Linked DNA regions of Homo sapiens: region 1 is linked to region 2. Evidence: promoter capture Hi-C in 16 types of primary human blood cells and fetal thymus (Javierre and others, 2016). All regions are on one chromosome and are shown on one strand. Each heading gives the region's core, a stretch centred on a gene start or on the middle of the fragment in contact. The rest is flanking DNA. Distances are from core to core; before and after follow the strand shown. Region 1 holds the start of KRTAP7-1 (keratin associated protein 7-1). Region 2 holds the start of TIAM1-AS1 (TIAM1 antisense RNA 1).

Region 1 (4,971 bases), core at 1,983-4,482, 730 kb before region 2:
TTACATTGGACAATACAATATTTTGCACCCATAAAGCAGAGATTTAACAAGTAAAGTCAATGAACAATTAATCAAGCACCTTCTCTCAGGCAGAGGTGCAATAAATACATGATATGTGAATGAATGAGTTTTAATTCAAACATAAAGTGTTTTGCTTCAATAAAGCAGAGATTTTTCAGTAAGCAAGACAGGGAGCATTTTCTTTTTTTTTTCTTTTATTATTATACTTTAAGTTTTAGGGTACATGTGCACATTGTGCAGGTTAGTTAGATATGTATACATGTGCCATGCTGGTGCGCTGCACCCACTAACTCGTCATCTAGCATTAGGTATATCTCCCAATGCTATCCCTCCCCCTACCTCCCACCCCACAACAGTCCCCAGAGTGTGATATTCCCCTTCCTGTGTCCATGTGATCTCGTTGTTCAATTCCCACCTATGAGTGAGAATATGCGGTGTTTGGTTTTTTGTTCTTGCGATAGTTTACTGAGAATGATGATTTCTAATTTCATCCATGTCCCTACAAAGGACATGAACTCATCATTTTTTATGGCTGCATAGTATTCCATGGTGTATATGTGCCACATTTTCTTAATCCAGTCTATCATTGTTGGACATTTGGGTTGGTTCCAAGTCTTTGCTATTGTGAATAGTGCCGCAATAAACATACGTGTGCATGTGTCTTTATAGCAGCATGATTTATAGACCTTTGGGTATATACCCAGTAATGGGATGGCTGGGTCAAATGTTATTTCTAGTTCTAGATCGACAGGGAGCATTTTCTAAGTGTAGACAACATACCATTTCAAGTGCTTTTGATGGCAACTATTATTTCAAAGAATAAACACTTCATTTTTAGTACTAGTTATATGTATAATCAGAGGTGAAGAAAGTGGAGAAAATAAACCCATCTATCAAAAAAGGATAAAAAATAATATGTGATTTTAGTAGTTGGCTTCCCTTTATTGATCAAATCTTAGGAACTCTTAAAGATAGAGTTTCATAACTAAGTCTATTTAGTTCCAATTCTTCCAACAACATGAGGGGTTCAAATCTCCCCAGAGCTGAGTTCTATAAACAGTAGGAAAGGAGAAATGAACCAAAATGGAATCTTGTCACTAAGGAAAAGAGAAAAGAAAACATGTTTTAGCATTCAACAGCTAAGAAATATTCCTGTTTTATAATCAGCTTTGAGAAACGCCAACAATTGCAGTATATCTGGGTTAAATACGGGACATTTCCAGGGAGTTTTTTAAATTGAAATATCAATATAAAAATAAAAAATGGTTAGGCATCACCCTATCCTGGCTATATAGTCTGAAATCAGAATAAAATTTGGTTAAAGTCAACCATTACGGGTTTAAACTGATTGATGAATTCAAGAGCATAAAAGAGAAGTGAAATAAATAACCAGGACAAAAATATTTATGCTGAAGGAAATAGATTTATTAAGAGACTGACAGAAAATCCCCTTACTACCCACACCCAATTTGTAATACATTAATGTTGATGTAGAAGCTAATAATACATGAGCAGAGCAACCATGGGAGGCAAACTACTTTTTCACTGTTAAAATTCAAGTATGACCAAAAAAATGCATCTTGCTTCCTTTGTCTGTAGATGAGTATCAGTTCAGCACCTGAGTCCTGGGTGACTTGTCCAACAGCATCAAAGACAAAGACCACAGCAAGAAGTCAGCAAGAAGATGGAAGATGTATCACCCAAGCACATGGGAAGGTAGGAAGACAGTCATTGCTCTTCAGGTTGTTCTGTGCAGAGAATTAATTGAGAGTCCTGTAGTCACTGGAGCCATTGGTCCATCAGTAGGTGCTGTAGCCAAAGCCAGAGCCAGAGCCCCATGGCCTATAGAAGCTACCACCATAGCAGCCGCCCAGGTTGTTGATGTTGCTACCACCAAAGCTGTAGCCCAGGGAGCTGTAGCCATTGCATCCACAGCCATAGTTCAGGGGAGAGCCCAGAGGCACAACACAGTTCAAGGGGGTGGCTCTGAAGGTCCCATGGAAGTTGGTCCCATAGATAGGGTATCCTGGGAAGTAGCTTCCACAGCAGAAGTAACGAGTCATGGTGGCAGCAATTGAGAAGGATTTAGATGGATTGTGAAGGGTAAGTTACCCAAGTGTTAATGAAGGTCTCTTCCCGTACAGGGCTTTTTATACCTCAAGCTGGTGGGCACAACACATCTGTCTAAACATCTTCCCACTAATTTGCATAGGTAATCTCATTCTTTTCTAATAAAATGCTTATAAGGAATGCACAGACTCATTGCCCACATTTTTGTTGGCTTTTCTCTGTACTATTTTAAAGCCAGTGACCATGCTTGACACGCAATCGAATTCTTTTCATCAGAGTCCCATAGTTTAACTACTGTTCTTGATTGCATCATGTGAGACTCTTTAAATCCTCTGATTATAAACTCTTCCCAACTGACATAGCTAAACTAAAAAAGCTTTGGCAAGAATGCAAACACTTCAAGCCAAGACAAAGCCATATATTGAGGTCTTTTGAACATTATTTTGAAACATCAAACTGAAATTCTATAACCTCTTGAAATTCACCCATGTGCCCTTTTAAAACAATTGTATACCAACTAGTTAATGGGTACAGAGTTTCCTTTTGGAGTGAAGAAAATCATTTGGAACTAGACAATGTTGCAAAACATTTGGAATGTACTAAATATCACTGAATTGTTACCTTTAAAATGCCTTGGTTTGTGTTATACAAATTTTAACTCAAAATGTATTTTTTATTTTAAAAAGCACTGCTACACAAATCTATCCAACCAGGTGTTTTTACAGAGGCTGCAATGGTGCCAAATAATAAGTTGGCTGTGAATAACCTGCAAGTAATTTTCATCAATTTCATTTATGAGCATTCTGTTTGTTAATACATATTTTATTTTTTCATGGAGAACATACCATGTTTGCTTGTAAATCATCTTGAACATTGCCAAACTGTCTTTCTGGAGTTGCCACACTGGCGCTGAGTGGGATGATGCTCAATTTCAGAGTCATGTTATACCACACTTGCTTCTTACTGACTCCTATAAAACAAGCCTGAATGCCATGATCCATTATGAAATACCAGTTATATTTAAGGATGCAACACTTCCTTCTGCTCTTATTTTGCCTTACATAACCAATTCTCATGAAGAACGTAAACCAGGAAGGATCTGAGCTCAGCAAAGCTAAGTCTATTCCAATTCAAAGGTTTACGACATCATCTTTTTATATGTGAATCAAAGTCAGAATTCTCTGAAAGTAGAAGAAAAAACTTCCTGAATACCAATTCCTTTTTTTATTTCCATCTTAACAGACAATCACAGAGTCCAATATGCAAAACTAATCATTCCTCTCAGACATCCCTCTCTCTTTAAGATTCTATCTCTCTCAGTTTCTCTGACAGAGAGCTGCCTAAAGAATGTTCTATAAGTGGATATGATTTCTTTTATTCTACAAATTAATTAAATGTCATAAGAGTATATAGAGAAAGTTAAAGAAAAATAAGTTATAATTTCAAATTCAGTTTAACAAAAAGAATGAATTAAAATGGTAAGAGGTTGTGTCCTCAGGGTTTAAATTATATAAACTCTGTATCAGATAATCCAGAAAACTCAAAAATACGTTTGTGATTAGGAGAGGGCAGGGGTGACTAAGAATTACGCGTGACTTGAAAAATTTCACTACTGATTCTATCACACAATGACATTGGAACCTGTAATTTGTACATGCTGCCACCAGGTGGCAGTGGTATTTCAGTTACTCCGTATAAACCACAGGACTGGATTTAGGGTTCTCAAATGTAAGCAGGTAGAAGAATCTTCTAAAGAATTCGCTTGAAATTCAGAATTCCAGGAGCTCTCCTCTCCCACCACCACCTGAGATTCTGGAAATCTCTATTTGTAATGGGTATCTCAGGTAATTCTGATGAATAAATCATCCTGATAAATTCCAGGGCTGGTTTGTCATGAGAATTCAAAAAAGCTTTTGCTGGGCTGTGTGAAATTGCCCAGAGATGCTTATCTCTCATTGGCAGGAGTGTTTGGTTTCAGTCGCTGGTGACTTATTTCCCTTAACTCTGGATGATAGAGGTAATTAAAGAAAAAGCTTTAGTTTGTCCTCTTCCATTTCTTGATGCTCTCTGCTTCTTGTCTCAGGACACACCTGATTAGAAAGGGAAGGTAACAGCAATGTGTTCAAGTGTCTCCTCAGAGGTAAAACCCACCTATGTGACTGCTGGTTTTGTTACCCATAATCAAAAGAAAAACTTATATTTTCTCCTTAGCTTGTTTTCACTTTCCTATCTCTTACTAGACATACCCAGAGAAAATTATCAGCCAAGTACTCGATTGCTATTCAATGATTTTTAAGATTGATAATAACAAAAAATATCATTAAGGACTTACTCTGTGCTAGACTCTGTTCTAAAGAATTTGCACATACTACTTAATTATATATTTTACCTCTATATATAGTAAGAAGGCTTACTATGCACTATTCCAAGCATTTGACAAGTGTTAATTCATTTAATTTTTATAATGATCTTATGATGTGGGTATTATGATTCTTTATAAGAAAACCGAGTCCAGAGGGTTTAAGAGAATTACTGAAGGTCACATGGTTAATAGTCAGCAGAATCAATCTCCAAACCCATGCCATCTACCTCCAAGCCATGCTCTTAACTACTTTACTATCCTGCTTTTGATATGTCATTAAGGCTTTAAAGGGATATAGCTTCTACATGCCTCAAATCTATAATTCATTGCATTATTTTTTGAAGAACACATCGATCTAGCTTTTGCTGCTAAAAACTAGAAAACAAAAAAACAAAGGCTAGTTTTTGCTGCTATAACAGACAGACATCCAAAATTTCCATGTTCAGAAATGTATTGCCTGCTCACACTATGAATTCCTCTCACATTGGTGACTGTCTTGGATACACATCATTTTCACT
Region 2 (5,109 bases), core at 2,176-4,675:
TTAATACATGCACCTAGTAGGCCCTCAGCAAACTCTCCCAAGGAATTCCTGCTCAGGGCTCCAGGGTTTCAGTCGGCACACTAGAACTGCAGGAATCTGGGGGGAAGGAGACAGGCCCAACGCTGCTTTTCCTTTCTGGTTTAGAGGGGGAGGGGAGAAGAGAGGAGCAAGGAGAAAGAACTGCAAAGGGAAAGGAGAGGAAGTCTTTGTCCGGGCTCTTTGGACGAGCATTAGAGTGGAGTTAAATTGTCAGCTAATGAGATTTCCTAACCACGTGCTCCCTTTTAAGTCTAGGCCCCCAACTGATTTGATCCCCACACAACAGCAGGGGGGAAAGAGGCCTTCAGCATCCCTAAGGGCGCGAGAATTCCCAGAACAAGTACAAGAAGGATGAGAATCATTTCTGAGAGTTCAACTTTAAATAGGTTATCATATTTATTAATTGACATCTAGCAACAATGCTACTGGCCGCGTTCCACATCAACAGCCGAATAGGGGTTCACGGGAGTCAGATTCCACTCGGGGTAACTGAGGCAGGCCCAGGGGAACGGAAGAGACAGAGCGCAATCCTGAGGGCTTCTCCAACCACTGGACAGCCTACAAGTCGAGTTTATGTTTGTTTGTTTGCCTGTTTTGGCTGGCAAAGGCCCCTGGGGCCTACATTCAAAGAATGTGTTGTTGGACCCAATAATTTATTCCAACAGGCAAAAGGGTGTTAAAACAGGAAGTTTTTTTTTTTCAATAAAATCTTTGTCGTTAAGCCTGAGATCATCTGATCTGATTATGGACTGTTATTATTTTGTGTTGTTTATTTCTATATGAAACTGATTTCTCTTTTTGCCTAAAGAAAAGTAGCAGTGCAGAGCTAGTGGAGGAAAAACAACTCAAAACACATTCACAACATTTTGAAGATATTCAATGAAATTGATTCTCTTCTACCTTCCCTGCTTAGTCAACAGCCTCTTCCTTAAGTTTTATTTCTCCTCTATTCAAAGATAATTACTTAGCAACGTCGGTGTTTACCACGCAAAGGCATCCACCCTCCCTAGCCCAGCTTTTTACCTTGAGATACAAAAAAGCATATGCTGGAAACCAACAATTTACCAAACTTCTTCAGCTACAAGGCATAGCTTAAATTTCATCTCTCCTAGAAAGTGTTCCCTCCTAACCTCCAGACATCTCTTTGTTCAAACCTCCCTCCTTCCTGGACTTAATCACTTTCCACAGCAGTCCTTGGTTCACTGGCAACTGCTTTCCACCTGGAAGGGTTTTTCCTTCTCCAAACCCAGGTCTGGGTCCCAGCAGAATCTTGAAGAAGAAAGAAGAAACAACTAAAACCTAATGGAAATTCAAACACATTTTTAAAAGGGCTGCAAGCGATTAGATAAATCTAATTAAACCTAAGGCCAAGTAAAACAAGTCCTGTTTGAAGCTGAGAACAGCAGTCCTTCATGCCTTTTATAATAAAAAGAAATTGGGGCTGGGGGAGTGAAGAACGCAGAAAAGGAAAGCGACAAGGGGCCATCCTCTATTACAGATTTCCTCTAACACAGAATCAACAGGACTCTAATATTTCATACGTGGCTGTCACTGTGCTTTGAGGTTAATCTATATGGTCGTTTAAGCCCCGCCCCCCTAGAGGTTATTCCTTATCCCCACTTTACAGATGCGCAAACTGAGACACAGGAAGATAGAATAGCTCGGCCGGGATCACCCAGCTTGTGAGTGACACCGAGCAGGTACTGGAACCCGGGTTTGTTTGACCTCAGCGCACAGGCTCTAAACCTCTGCTCCAACTCAAAGTATGCGCCAAGTCAGCGTGCATGGGTAACCCGATCCGGACGGCTCTGACTCGGGATGCGGCACAGCTGCCCTGCGGGGCCGCGCGGGTGTCACCGAGGCGGGCACAGACTGCACAGTGTCCCCAAGGGCTCGCGCACGTCCTTCAAGACCTGCCAGCGCGCGGGAAAAGGCAGGCTCCGAGTCAACCAGGGCTGACCCGGGGGCAAGACCAGGAGACGCGACGACTGGAACCGGGTGAGTGTGGCCGAGTCGGCGCCCCGAGGGCCGCCAGCCTGGACCCCAGGCTGGGACACGGGCGCCCCCGGGTGCAGGGGACCTAGAGGCGCCGTGCGCGGCGGGGGCTGGGCGCGAAGGCGCCGAGACGGCATCTTTCCCCTGCAGCATCCCGCCCCGCGGCCGGGGGGAGGGGGCGTCACCTGACAGCGCGCAACAACTTCTCCAGGTTTCGAGGGGGCAAGCGGCAGCCGCCGGGGCTGGGGGGCGCACGGCGCGCTGCTCTCGCCCAATGGCGAGGTCTGTAAACAAAAGCGGGCCCCACGCGGGTCCCCAGCCGGGTGGCGAGGGGCGCGGCGCAGCAGCATCGCAGCGGCAGAGCTGGTGAGAGGGCGAGGCGGGGACGGGATAGGGCGCGGGGACCCAGGGCACAGTCCCCGGGACCCGACCGCCCGGATGAGGCATTGTCTGCGCACCCGCAGGATTCCGCTTTTAATGCCCCCCTCCGGGGGTTCGTCGCGGGTCCCCAGCTCCGTGCGCCGGCCCCCGGGCTTTCCGCCCGGTGAGCCCGGCCCCGAGGGCGGCACGGATCGCCAAGGTGAGCGCCCAGGACGCGTCGCCGAAAAGCCAGGCCCGGAGGTGCCTAAGTCAGGGACCGAGACGCAAACATAGACACAAGGATGCACAAGCACGCCCTCCCCGAAGTTGACAAAAATCAGCCGATAAAATACAAAGTGCCGCGGCCGCCGCAGGTCAGCGCTGACCTCCTGCTGCCGAGAGGACCGAATGCCGACGTCCGGACGCTGTCATTTCCATCCAGCGAAGGCACCTGGGCTGCACGGTCTCGTCTCCCTCCTTCGCGCGAGGGATGCCTCCTCCTGCCTCTCCTCCCCGCATCTCCCCACCTCCCAAGTGTGTGAACACGAAAACAATACGTGGAAAGCCCGATCGGGGGGAGCTAGGACCCGCCGGGAGCCCCAGTGTGCGGGAGACGGGGGTCAGAACGTGCCCGGCACGGGCACCGAGGCTCCGGGCATCCTCGCCGCCGTCTCCCGGGGCGGCTCCGGCCGGACGCCCGCGCACCCCAGGCCCGCGGTACTCACCCGCGACGGTCGTCCGGGATCTCCGCGACGGGGCCGGGCACGATGCGGGGCAGCCGTGCCCCTGGGGCTGCGGGCGCCAAGGCGTCCGCGGAGCTGCAGAGCTGCGCGCCCGACGGCGGCGGCGCTGCTCTGCCGGCCGCGCTCGAACCCGCTCGTGGTCTGCCAATCGGAGCTGTCAGGGCCCCTCCGCCTGCGGCCTCGGGGGCCGGGCCGCGGGAGCCCGTGGGAAACCGAGCTCCGATTGGGCCGCCTGACAATCGCTCCGCCTCCGGCCAGCCAATCCGAGGCGGTGGATGCAGGAGCGGGGCGTTCGGAGTTGGGCTGTAGAGCGACTATGGGCGCACGCCGGGTATCCGCGCCGCAGCCAGGCTCGGAGCGCGCGGCTGGAGGGGCGCGGGCGGCGCGCGCTCCAGAGATGCCTTCCTGCGAGGCTCCGTCAGCGCGGCCCGGGGAGATCGCCCGCAGGCAGCGGAGGCGCGGCGGGCCGGGGGACGACCAGGGAGCCCCTAACAAAGCAGCTTTGGGAGGGCCGGAGGCCTCTGCCTCCCTCGGCGATAGGTCCGCGAAGCTGCCTGTCATCTCGCATAGGTGGAGGTGGCCAATGGCGTGCACAGACGGAGCTCTAGTTGGCGCGCGCGCGCGGCTCGGCATCGGTGGGATTGGTCGGAGGTAAAGGATTTTCCTGCCACCTAAGGCGGAGAGGAAGGGGGATCGAAACGGGGGAGGCGAAGAGTCAAAAAATGTTGTGCCTGGGACAAGTGGTCTGGCGCGGGAGGCGTGTGCCTGGCTCTAGGGGGAGACAGGAACTTTTTTACGAGAGAAAAAAATCCTAACGCAATCCCTTCCCGTGGATGCTAGAGGATGTTAGACCCTGAGCAGCCTCCAGGTAGGGCATGGTGGCCTTCACCAGAGTCCAGGACTCCCAGGGTTCACTTACCGTGCCCAGCAAGCGAACTTGGAATAACAGCGTGGGGTTTGGGCCTTACGCTTACCTGCTGGGCAGAGTAAGTGACTCGGGCAGGGTTCACGCAGACCTCCTGGGCTCCTCTGTAAAATCCGGAAACTACAGTTGCAGTTTACCTCTCGCAAGGTTGTGGAGAACGCGGAAACGGAGACGCTGGCGGTACAGCCTCGAGCGAAACCTTTCCCTACACGAGGCCGGAGCTTCCTCCTCTCCTGAAGAGCTCTAGACTTCCCCATTTACAACAAAGGCTGGGATGTATGTTCCTTACACCTTGATTCCATACACACGTGTTCGCCCCGGGAGCTGGGAAGGTCTGCGCTCCCGGGGTGATCTTGTTGAAAACAAAAAGAATTGCCCACGCTGTGGAAGATAAACCTAAACCGGAAAATTGAAAGTCATCCCTGATTCCTCCTTCTTCTTAACCCTCTCCCATCCATTTTTGTTAACCTCCCAAACCCATTCCTCCCATCCTGTCTCACCTGGACCTCAGTAAAGGGCTCCCATCGTCCTTCTGTCCCAGGCCTTGCCCCCTGAAATCTGTTCTCCACTTTGCAGAATGATCCTTCTAAGCAGAAAAATCTCATTTTGCGCTCCCAACTCTGGGTCTCTTTTCTTTCCCCAGAACACGTCAACCCCCAGCCCCTCCCTTCACTTCACTAATTCCTACCCTTCTTCAGATCCCAGCTTGGCCGCCAAGGCATCCATGCAGTAGGCATTGCTGAACTACTGCTCTTACAGACCCCGGGAAGCCTCCTGTACCCTGTCAAGGTTAGATGCCACATTTCCACTTCCAGTGCTTCCACCCCCTGTGCTCCCCTCACAGGCCTGTATGACACGGGGCTGAAGTTGCCTGTTGCACTGCAGCCTTCCATGGAAGCCGGAATCTTATCTATCTTCCCTGCTGGATCCCAGTCCTAGCACAGTGTTTGGCACATTTGGGGCACTGAAAAAACATGGAATCCATGAATTATAGAGGAGCTATAATTATAGGCAAGAGCTTTAAGGATTTGAAGTGCTTCTAAAACA

The links. Contacts are between HindIII fragments. The CHiCAGO score rates a contact against its expected background, and 5 or more counts as called.
Region 1: a contact is called between a fragment that was not itself captured here and the fragment with the promoter of TIAM1-AS1 in region 2, in 1 of 17 cell types (M2 macrophages). The highest score is 5.5, in M2 macrophages.

What each region holds. Positions count from the first base shown.
Region 1 is chr21:30,827,615-30,832,585 of GRCh38, forward strand. KRTAP7-1 (keratin associated protein 7-1) reads right to left here and starts at 2,145. Exons shown (of 1, transcript NM_181606.3): 1 at 1,425-2,145. The coding sequence starts at 2,084. The coding sequence ends at 1,821. The HindIII fragment of the contact is 1,534 bases long and covers 2,466-3,999 here.
Region 2 is chr21:31,555,808-31,560,916 of GRCh38, forward strand. It overlaps TIAM1-AS1 (TIAM1 antisense RNA 1), which reads left to right and starts at 3,426. Exons shown (of 2, transcript NR_171013.1): 1 at 3,426-3,788; 2 at 4,210-4,680. It also overlaps a transcript of TIAM1 not described here. RefSeq lists enhancers at 1,426-2,239, 3,053-3,865 and a silencer at 3,145-3,774. The HindIII fragment of the contact is 6,855 bases long and covers 1-5,109 here.